2 separate regions of the Homo sapiens genome follow, and region 2 is linked to region 1. The links are contacts of gene promoters, found by promoter capture Hi-C in human tissues and cell types (Jung and others, 2019). All regions are on one chromosome and are shown on one strand. The core of a region is centred on a gene start or on the middle of the fragment in contact, and the rest is flanking DNA. Distances in the headings are between cores, read along the strand shown. Region 1 holds the start of LGALS3 (galectin 3). Region 2 overlaps TBPL2 (TATA-box binding protein like 2).

What was found. Contacts are between HindIII fragments. The study calls those that stand out against the background at their distance.
Region 2: a contact is called between a fragment that was not itself captured here and the fragment with the promoter of LGALS3 in region 1, in 2 of the 25 tissues and cell types used here (IMR-90 fibroblasts and aorta).

What each region holds. Positions count from the first base shown.
Region 1 is chr14:55,126,610-55,132,016 of GRCh38, forward strand. LGALS3 (galectin 3) reads left to right here and starts at 2,643. Exons shown (of 6, transcript NM_002306.4): 1 at 2,643-2,691. RefSeq lists a silencer at 2,339-2,938 and an enhancer at 3,289-3,478. The HindIII fragment of the contact is 8,667 bases long and covers 1-3,683 here.
Region 2 is chr14:55,421,895-55,427,301 of GRCh38, forward strand. TBPL2 (TATA-box binding protein like 2) reads right to left here. Exons shown (of 7, transcript NM_199047.3): 6 at 2,265-2,359. It also overlaps a transcript of FBXO34 not described here. Among named protein-coding and RNA genes, the nearest start is that of ATG14, 13 kb to the left of the region's middle. The HindIII fragment of the contact is 5,195 bases long and covers 722-5,407 here.

The DNA of each region.
Region 1 (5,407 bases), core at 1,393-3,892:
TCTGGTTCTATTTTCCTATTTAAAAGGTGACTTTAAAAAACTGGCTTTGCTGCCGGGCGCAGTGGCTCACGCCTGTAATCCCAGCACTTTGGGAGGCTGAGGTGGGCAGATCACCTGAGGTAGGGAGTTTGAGACTAGCCTGACCAACGTGGAGAAACCCCATCTCTACTAAAAATTGGCCAGGGTGGTGGTGCATGCCTGTAATCCCAGCTACTGGGGAGGCTGAGGCAGGAGGAGAATCACTTGAACCTGGGAGTGGAGGTTGCGGTGAGCCGAGCAAAACTCCGTCTCAAAAAAATAAAATAAATAAATAAATAATCGGCTCTGCTTTCTTCTCCAATTACTGTCTTTCTTTCTCTTTTCTGCTTATCCTTAAAGACTTTCCCTTTTTGTTCTCATCTTCATCTCCTACTCTCTTCTGGCTCTAACTGAAGTTCTCACGCAGCTTCCCTCCTGACCTTCTGGACAGCCACCTGCTTTCCCAAGTTTCCTCCTTTCCCTCCTGTGGAGATGCCTCTCTTAGAATCCTTGCTTTTATCAGCGGCTTACAATCTCTGCATCCGTAGAAACCAGACAGCCTTTTTGTTTGAGGGCTAACACTTGCCTTGTCCCTATTTCAAATAACACAGTGAGCTGTACATAGAAGTTACTCAATGATATCTTAATTGATTTTATTGGGTTCCTTTTTACGCTTATCTTAGAAAAGGGATGTGACTTTGGATTGGGTAATAAAGAGCCGTTTATTGCATGTGTACAAATTATAAATTCCCAGGCACACCCTGATCATAGCAGGATCCTTTTGTTAGCTTTATGGGGCATGAAGTTGGCACCAAAGTATTCATGGGGATGTACAAGTAAGGAAGGGAAGCCAAAAGCATGTCTGATCATACAATCAGGTGTAAGCAAGCCCCCTAAGTAGCCAGGGCATGAACTTTGTCTATCTCTGAAATGACCAGAAGAAAAGGCAAGAGTGTGATTCATCCCTTGCCTCCACAGCAATTCATTTGGCTATCTACTTTTCTTATTACCAATGGCTAACCCTCTAAGGGTACCACTCCTGGCCATGAGGCCTCATGACTCAAAGTCTTAAGATTTATAGCATTTTCCCTGGAGACCAAGGGCATTCCTTTGGGTGATACCTTTTTACTACCCAGAGGTTAGTCATTTACTATGGGTGATCCATTCAAATAAATTGGTTGCCAGGCTACCTCTTCAGATAAGAGTTCAAACTTGCATAAATAATCCCCAGCCACACTGTGACTTCTATGTGCAAGCCTAGAGGGGACGATGTTGCAGGAACCGTGCCAACCACTAAGACACTTTCAAGTTTATCCTAGAGAATGCCAAGACAGCTTCTCAATTCCATCAAGTGAGTCCTTCACAGGAACATTTCCCTAAGTTGAAAAACTGCAGGAAATAATTTATCTTTATGTTATTAATTGGTTACTATAAGGGCTACAGGAATTATTTAGGAACCAGATGATACCTGGTTTTCTCCATAGTTTACATAAGCCAGTCCCTGCAAAGATTCTTCCCCTACCCCCCTTAATTTTTTTTTTTTTCCTCAGAGATCCTTGTTCCAACCTGCAAGGATTCTTTGGCCTGGTGCTTTTCCAGGTAAAGTGTAAGAGCCAGGATTTCTGGATTTTGTTCCTAGACATGAGTGAGCTTGGATAAGTAAATCATTTTCTCTTTTAGTCTGTTTGGGCTTCTGTAACAAAATATCATAAACTGGGTAGCTTATAGGCAATATACATTTATTTCCCACAGTTCTGAAGGTCGGGAAATCCAAGATCCAGGCCAGCAGATTTGATGTCTGGTGAGGGCCTGCTTTCTGGTTCACAGAGGGAGCCTTCTGGCTGTGTCTTCACAAGGTGGAAGTGGCAAGGGGTCTCTCTCCGGCCTCTTTTATTAGGGCACCAATCTCATTCATAAGGACCCTGCCCCTATGACCTAATCACTTCCCAAGGCCTCCACTTCCTAATACATCACCGTGAGGGTTAGGATTTCAACATATGAACTTTGGCGGGATATAAACATTCAGACTATAGCACCCTGACAGTAAAAATGAGATAATAATACTTATCTCTTTCTTCCAACAAAAAGATAAGGTGAAGTTAAAAGGAGGGTATATATATATATAATGTGAATTTCCTGTGTAAAATGTGTTAAAGAGTTGTCTGATTAATTGCTTTATAAGGGAATTGCTTTGAGACTAGGCCTATTGATCTAGAATAAGTAGTCAATTTGTAGTCAGTTCCCTAGGGAATAGACATTGAAAAGATTTTTGGTTTTGTATTCTACAAATAAAGCAACCTATTAATTGAATTCCTCTCAGCGAATTCTTCACTCAGGTGATTCTGGAGAGGGCGGGGGACAGACGCGGCCGCAGCCCAGGTCCCGGGAGCGCCACGGAACCTAACGGTGGCAGCGGAGGTCGCGCCCCTCAGTGCCCGCGCTCTCCCCGTCGGGAGCTTCCTGGTCGCCCCTGCGGCGGCGGCTCGGGGTGTCTGGCCGGCGCGGGGCTCGCCCAGCCTGGTCCGGGGAGAGGACTGGCTGGGCAGGGGCGCCGCCCCGCCTCGGGAGAGGCGGGCCGGGCGGGGCTGGGAGTATTTGAGGCTCGGAGCCACCGCCCCGCCGGCGCCCGCAGCACCTCCTCGCCAGCAGCCGTCCGGAGCCAGCCAACGAGCGGTGAGCTGCGCGGGGCGCGGGGGACGCGGCTCCGGCCGGGCAGGGGAGAGGGCGCCCGGGCGCTGCTTGGGGCGCGGTCCGGAGAGGGTTCGGCTCCCCGGGACCGGGCCGGGGCGCGCGCGGAGAGCCCCACAGCCTGTGCTCTGCCCTCCAGGAGCGGGGCGGCGGGCAGCGATCTGGGCCCGGGGCAGTCGCCTTTGATTATCGAGGGCGCTGGCGTTCGGGGAAGGTTGGCAGCACCTTACGAGACCCACACACGTCCCCGGGGCGGCACGGGCCACCTTCTGCGGAGCCTCGTGGGCTTCGCCGCCGTCGCACCTCCGCCGCCTGCGCTCTGCGGCCCCAGAGTAAGCCCCATCCGGTGACGAGCCGCAGTCTGGTCACCCCAGTCCCACCAGGTCCCGCTGCGAGGGGAGGCGGAGGGGCTCGCTCAGCAAACCAGACGGCCGCTCCAGTTTCTCTAATTGGGGTTGGAGCCCCGTCACCCTTCCCCAGATCACGGCCGCGGGGGAGCGAAGGGACTTCCCAGGACTGCATAGGGCGCCTCCCGGGACCCACAGCTTGGCTGGCCCGGCCCCTTTTGAGCATCAGCTGAGGCTGGACTTGGAGGAGATCTCGCTGTGGAGCGCGAATGAGTTCTTCCACCGGGACCAGCTGCGGCCGGGCTGCAGCCGCTGTCTGGTTGCTGATCCCACAGAAAATGGTGCTTGCCCCATGGCCTGAGTGGGCATGACCCGGCTTTGCAAAGACTGCAAACTCTAAGCTTTTCCGAATCAAATGCCCCTCCCTGCCCAGACTGTCTGTGCCCAGGAAATGGTGGGTGTGGCAAAATGTTGGTCCTAGCGTGCAGAGCCCTACCGGGGGGCTTTCACAACATGTTTGAGAGTTTATTCTGAATTATCGGGTGCTCAAATAGAAACACTAAAACGATTGCCCTCTGAGCAGTAGGCGTTCAGGTCCAGGGAGTCGGGGACGCATGGTGGAGGCTGGGACTTAGGTTTCAGCCTTACCCTTCAAGTTCGCCATGCGGGTTCCAGAGACTGCGGAATGTTTGTAAAGTGACTCTGGGAATTGGGTTGCTGCGCAATGAGGACACCTGGACCTCAGTGACTCAGGCTGTCTCTAGGATTCTGGGGAAGAAATGGGAGAAGGCTCAGTTAATTCTGAAGAAAATGAGACTGATACAATTAACTACTTGGGCACAGGGCCTGAGAAGAAAAAGCTTTCGTCAGCTTCCAAAGTTCTGATTTGTTTACCTAAGGTTTTTTTTTTTTTTGAGACGCAGTTTCGCTCTTGTTGCCCAGGCTGGAGTGCAACGGCACTATCTCGGCTCACCGCAACCTCTGCCTACCGGGTTCAAGCGATTCTCCTGCCTCAGCCTCCCGAGTAGCTGGGATTACAGGCATGCGCCACCATGCCCGGCTAATTTTGTATTTTTCGTGGTGGTGGTGGTGGGGGGGGGGGGGTCCCTCCATGTTGGTCAGGCTGGTCTCGAACCCCCGACCTCAGGTGACCCGCCTGCCTCGGCCTCCTAAAGTGCTGGGATTATAGGCGTGGGCCACTGCGCCTGGCCTACCTCAAGTTTATAAACATTTCATACTAGGAAATTGTGTGTTTCCATAAAAGGTAAAGTTGAATAATGATCATTTACTTTTCTACAACAATAGTCTCCCTTTTAGACATTGACTCTCAATCCTTAGGGTAGGGTCTCTCATTCTAAAGATGATCATACCCCATCCTTGATCTTTGGGGGACTTAAGCAACTTCCTAAATTCATAATATTTAGAGGTGATGTTTAAAATCAGCACTTAGTCCAGATTCTGGGGAGAAGTTTGATGATGGTCCTTGAATATTTAGCACTTAGAAGTGCTAGGAGGATGCCTCACTAAGTTACGTAAGAAGCAGAAGAGGACGAGTACCGCCTGATGGATTGACCCCGAAAACTAGCTGTGTCCAAGTAGAATAGGTGTCTCGCTCTGTTAAGCGGTCTTTAAACTATGATAGTTCGCTGTACTACAAATATGCATAGGTGCTTTACAAAGACTTTTCACTTAGTGAGGTCAAGAGGCTAATGCTGGTCTCATGTATAATTTAGGTACCTTTTTACATAGAACCCTCATTAGCCAGACTCTAAACCTTAACTGCAGCCAAGACCTTTGTTCATGTAGTATGCCTTCAGAATCTCGTGTTGACCTTAAATGCCAAGTGGCTTGTAAACTTATGTACTTGATACTTGTGGTAACTGATCTCAAACATAGCTCTTCTTTCCTGTGATCGTTTGGGACACAGGCTCCCACTCAAGGGTAGCTCCTTGTGTCTGGTGCCTGAACTGGATCTTCTCATTAAATTCTGAGTGGGTAACTTAAGAACCAGTCTAGGCTGTGCTTGCTGTATACTTCCAGTTCGCTATTGACCAAGTGTCATGTGTTCTCTTTTGAACTGTTCAGCTTTTCCGTAGGGGGGAAGATCAGTCATGAGAAGCAGAAAGTAACTCTACCTTCCTTGATGCCAGGGAGCTATGATGAGAAAGAAATCCTAGGAAAGGACCAGTTCCCCTTATTCCAACTTAGCATCACTGAATTTGTCTTTGGCAAATGGGCTTTCCTCAAGTCCTGCTCTGTGTTTCAGCAAGGACAGGAAGTAGACTGCCTCTTGTGTTACTTGAGGAGCAGTGTAGGGCAGTGCCTAGGGGCTCAGGAAGTAGTCTTCTTCTGTG
Region 2 (5,407 bases), core at 2,069-4,568, 300 kb after region 1:
CTGAATTCAGGTAATATAAAAGTCTCAATTTTTTTAGATGAGGCAAGATTTTATAAAATTCTAGTTTGGAGGAATATACATTTAAGAGAGGCTAAGAAATATAAAAATTAAAGTAATGAGGGGAAATTGGCCTTATTAGATATACCATGAGTATTAAAGCTACAATAAGATAAAGGCAATAGGATTATAATAGGATAAACCTAGAGCAAAGGCAGAACCGAAGAACAGCCACATATGTAAAAGAAAGGTCAAAAGGAGTCATCCAAAATTAATGAGAAGATATGTAGCGTTAAGTTGGTTGGCTAGCTATTTGGGACTGGGGCATGGAGATCAGTTTGGCTCAGGCCACATAAACTTGGCATTCATTATGGTAGAGGAGAGTGAAATGTATAAAAAGACAAAAGTAGACTACGCGATCTCAGCTCACTGCAACCTCCACCTCCTAGGTTCAAGCGATTCTCCTGCCTCAGCCTCCTGAGTAGCTGGGATTACAGGCGCTTGCCACTATGCCCAGCTAATTTTTTTTTTGTATTTTTAGTAGAGACAGGGTTTCACCATGTTGGCCAGGCTCATCTTGAACTCCTGACCTCATAATTCGCCTGCCTCGGCCTCCCGAAGTGCTAGGATTACAGGCGTGAGCCACCGCGCCCGGTCATAAAATAGCAACTTTCTGTAGGTGGGGCACAGTGGCTCACACCTGTAGTCCCAGCACTTTGAGAGGCCAAGGCAGGTAGATCACTTGAGGCCAGAGGTTCGAGACCAGCCTAGCCAATTTGGCAAAACCCCATCTCTTCGAAAAATACAAAACATTAGCTGGGCATGGTGGCATGTGCCTGTAGTCTCAGCTACTCAGGAGGCCGAGGCAGGAGAATCACTTGAACGCTGGAGGTGGAGGTTGCAGTGAGCTGAGATCGCGCCGCCATAGTCCAGCCTGGGCAACAGAGTGAGACTCTGTCTCAAAAACAAAAACAAACAAACAAACAACAATATATATAGCAACCTTCTGTAGAATGACATAGAAAAGAGTCTGAACCATTCCCTCAAGTAGTTTTAAAAAGTGCTATTTATGCAAAAATTATTTAAAAAAAAGCCAACAGGAAAAAATAACAAATATAGCAAAGAATAATTTGTCTTTAATAGTATTATAGTAAACTCAAATCCCGAGAAAATACAAGCTAAGTAGACAAAAGGATAAGTTATGTCATGTACATATTATTTACAAGAGACAAAATGCTATTTATTGGATGTGTTGAAAAATGGTCGATTTCTGTCTCTGATTACCGGTGGGGTTAAAGTAGTGAGATAATTTTTACATATACAGTTAAAGTTTTCTTTGGTACCATTTTGTTTGGAATGCTGCCAAGCATTTGGTAAAAGATATTTAGATACATTGCATTTAAGACCATGTGATACAGAACTATGTCATATATCCCTTTAAAACAATTGGGCGATTTGTTCTAAGAACAAAATGGACATAGCCTTAAACGAAAGTCCCATTTCTGAGTGTCCACACTAATATCATAATTGTCTACAGGTAAAAGCAGCCAAATGTCTGCCCTTCATAAGTAGCAAACAAAGAAGGAACATTTACCTATCTAGCAATGGGACAATACGTTTGATTCAATAACATGTTAGAATGGGTTCAGCAAAGGTAGGTCTGCTGGCTAAAGCCATCCTGCTGCCTGATTTTGTTAGCCTATGAGCTAAGAATGGTTTTTATCTTTTTCAGCAGTTGGGGAAAAAATATTACATAACACACATAAATTATGTCACGATATGAAATTCACATTTCAGAGCCCATTCCTTTATATAATGTAACATTCAGAGCTGCTTTCACACTACGATGGCAGTGCTCAGTAATTGTGACAGACCCTGTGGCTCACAAAGCTTAAAATATTTAGTATTTGGCCCTTTCCAGAAAAGAGTTTGTTAACCCCTGTGTTAGGACCTTGTGTGGCCATTAAAAGCCTTTATGAAGAGTTTGTAACAGTAAGTTTAAGCCATATATGTTATCATGGATAATTCTGTAAAAAAATCAGGATGTAAAGATGAAATACTTAATAAAATGACATAAAAACATGAAAAAAATGTTGTTTTAGGTACTGGGACCTATGGGTGATGTTATTCCTTTCTTATTTTTCATTCCAGGTATTCTGTATAACAAGAATTACTTTACCATGGTGAACAAAGGTATTTAAAAGAATAAGCAAAGCACATGCATAGCAATTACATTTTATGAGTCAGAAAATAATCTTAGCACTTACCTGTCAACACAACTTTTCCAGATACAAAGATAAGCAACACAATTCGTGGTTTTACCATTCTATAAATAAGACCAGGAAACAGTTCAGGCTCGTAACTGTTAAGATGTAAAAGGAAAATGTTAAAAATAGCACTATTCAGCTCCTTTCCCATAACATGTAAGGCCCAGTATATTAAAGTGCATATTAAAGCAGTTGTAAATAAGTTAGCTATTTTATCAAAAACTTTTTAACTATCTTGATGAAGAGTCTTGAGTGTCCTAGGTAATATCTTATGGAAGTTAGGAACATAATTAATTTTGGGTCATAACACAAGTGCAAGCTATCCTGGATGGTTATTAGAAATCAAGGTAACTTAGGGCATCTGATTTAGTGTATTGAGAGCTTGTTGGTTAAACATCCTCTATCTTTTCAAAAAAGTCTGTTAATAAGAATACATAATCATGTTTTTCTGGGTTTCCAAATTCTCCAATAATAAACATATTTTGTATGCTTTTACGAACTGCTGAAGTTAACATTTTTAGCAGATAGAACCTAAAAATATTTCTAGGCCACTGCTATTTGTATTTGAACAGGTGCTATATAAATAAAGAAAATCCAATTATCCCGAGTTTTTACAATTCAGGATTTGTTGCTATAAATAGTAACTCATATTTACTACTAAATATAAGCTGGCCACTCCATGGAGCGAAAGATGATAGCACTTAAGAGCTTCTTCTCCACACTCCAGCCTGGAGAGGAGGGCAGATTCTTAGAAAGGCTTGAGGAACCTACCAAAAAGAAGTCAGGAAGTGAGAGGAGGTGAATAAAACTATTCTCAAAGCAGTGGCTAATGGACAAGAAATATAAGAAAAAAAGACATCCAAGCAATGGAACACTAGCATCTTTGCACTTAAAGGGTGAATCCAGACTGCATGGAAAAGCTCCATTCAGTTCAGCAATGAACAAGACCCAAAAACAACAGCAGATGTGGAACCTTTTACTGGCTCCAGAAAGGCGCATCTTGAAGTGAGTCTTGCCCATCTCAAGTATAGGAGGTCATTGTGGGTGGAACTGTCTTCTGGAACATCACTCTGTCTTACTGCAGGGAGCCTGTCAAGACTTTCTCCCACTAACCACTTCCCAACACTGGGGAGACCATGACACTAGGGGGAGCCCTGAAAAACCCTCCAGGGCTATGAGATCCAGGCCAAGAAAATGAAGGCTGGAGACACAAAAAGAAGATTTCCATTTGATCTTCCAGCTAAATTTTAAGACTTAGAAAAGAGAAAACAAAAACTTTGGTATGTAAATGATATTGAACTGCATTTAGCTTTTAGAACCATGGTTTTAAGATTACCAGTATAATGTGCTCCCAATTAGGAATATACTTCATTTTATTTATTCTCTGCCTCATTCCAAAAGAAGGCTGAGGCAGAGAAAGAGAGTGGTTTTGGTTAGGGATGGAGAACATTTCACAAAGATTGAGAATATCGAACACCTGCCAATTTCTTGGCCAACCCAACTTTGACCCATCCTTCAAGTCTCATTTTAAATGTTACTTCCCCAAGAAAATCTTCCTTGATCTCTACCCACCCCCAATTACATTAAAGACCCTGCTTTATGGTCTCATAGCCCCTGAAGGGCCTTACCTTCACAGTCACCATGTTTCATTACTGTCATTGACTTGTCCATCTTTTCTTTTAGACAGTGATCTCTATGTGGGCAAGGGACTATAGCTATATTGCTTGCCATTATCATCCTAGCATCTGCTACATGGTAGTCACCTAGATCTTATTCATATAGCAAGTATTTATATCAGGATACCTTTGAATTAAAAATTAAAGAGGGGGCCGGGTGCGGTGGCTCACACCTGTAATCCTAGTACTTGGGAAGTCGAGGTGGGTGGATCGCCTGAGGTCAGGAGTTCAAGACCAGCCTGGCCAATATGGTAAAACCTCGTCTCTACTAAAAATACAAAAATTAGCCGGGTGTGGTGGTGGGTGCCTATAATACCAGCTACTCAGGAGGCTGAGGCAGGAGAATCACTTGAACCCTGGGGGGTGGAGGTTGCAGTGAGCTGAAATCATGCCACTTCACTCCAGCCTGGGCAAAAGAGCAAAACTCCATCTCAAAAAAAAAAAATAAATAAATAAAATAAAGAGGGAAAAATTCTCATTGACAACTGTGGAAATGATTATGTCATAGAAAGATTACCAGAGAAAGTGCCTGGTAACAAAAGGAGATACTTGTATTATTAAATGTTGACATACAAATTTGCAGAACCTGGGAAACTGAATGACCTTAGGGGTTTAACACAAGGCAAATTTGGCCTGATAATTATAACTGATTATGTAGCATGGTTCCCCACAGAGCTACAGACAATTAGAGAGGCCTCATGTTAAAAATTCAAATCTTCTAAGAGGTGTTTTTAATGTTCCCAGTGTCAAGAATACACACTCTGGAGTTGTAATCCATAACCTGAGGCTGACAGCCGAATGGAGAGGATGAGGGGGAGGCAAGAATGAGACTAGAAATAGAAAGTTGTGGGAATACAAAGCAAGCTTCCTGGCCAGATTAAAAAAAAAAAAAGAAAAGAAAAGAAAAGATGACTGAGATCATAAAACTGTCCCAGGAGGAAGATAGAACAGGGATGGGCCCACTCCGTCTGATGTATTCTCACTGCGCCTTACTGGCAACCCTTCCAGAAGCTGGTAGTAATAACAAGGGGCACCTATTCTAGACTTAGATCTGCTCTGCAAGGAAGATGCTGGTGAAAAAGAAATGAATGGACACTTGGGAAGAACCACACACATCATTTTCGAGCCCTGAATGGCCAGAAGGGAATGCTAAGTCTAATGTAGACACAACCTTAGAGTTCGGGCAGAGCTCTTGCAGATGTACACTAAGCCGATTCAGAGAAAGATAGGCTGGAGGCTCGTGACTTGAGAGTCTGGAAGATAAGACAACTTAAGCACTGGGAGACTCTTAGAAACAGGCTTTATTAGGAAATCTGCAAATTATGCCAAGATTGAAGGAAGAAAGATACCTAAAGAGGCAACATGTCTTACATGGGGGAATGGGAGGACTTTATAGGGAGCTCAGATTTTTAAAAAATGGGGTATATTTAGGCATTCAATAGCATACAGTGAAAAAACTGAAGAAAA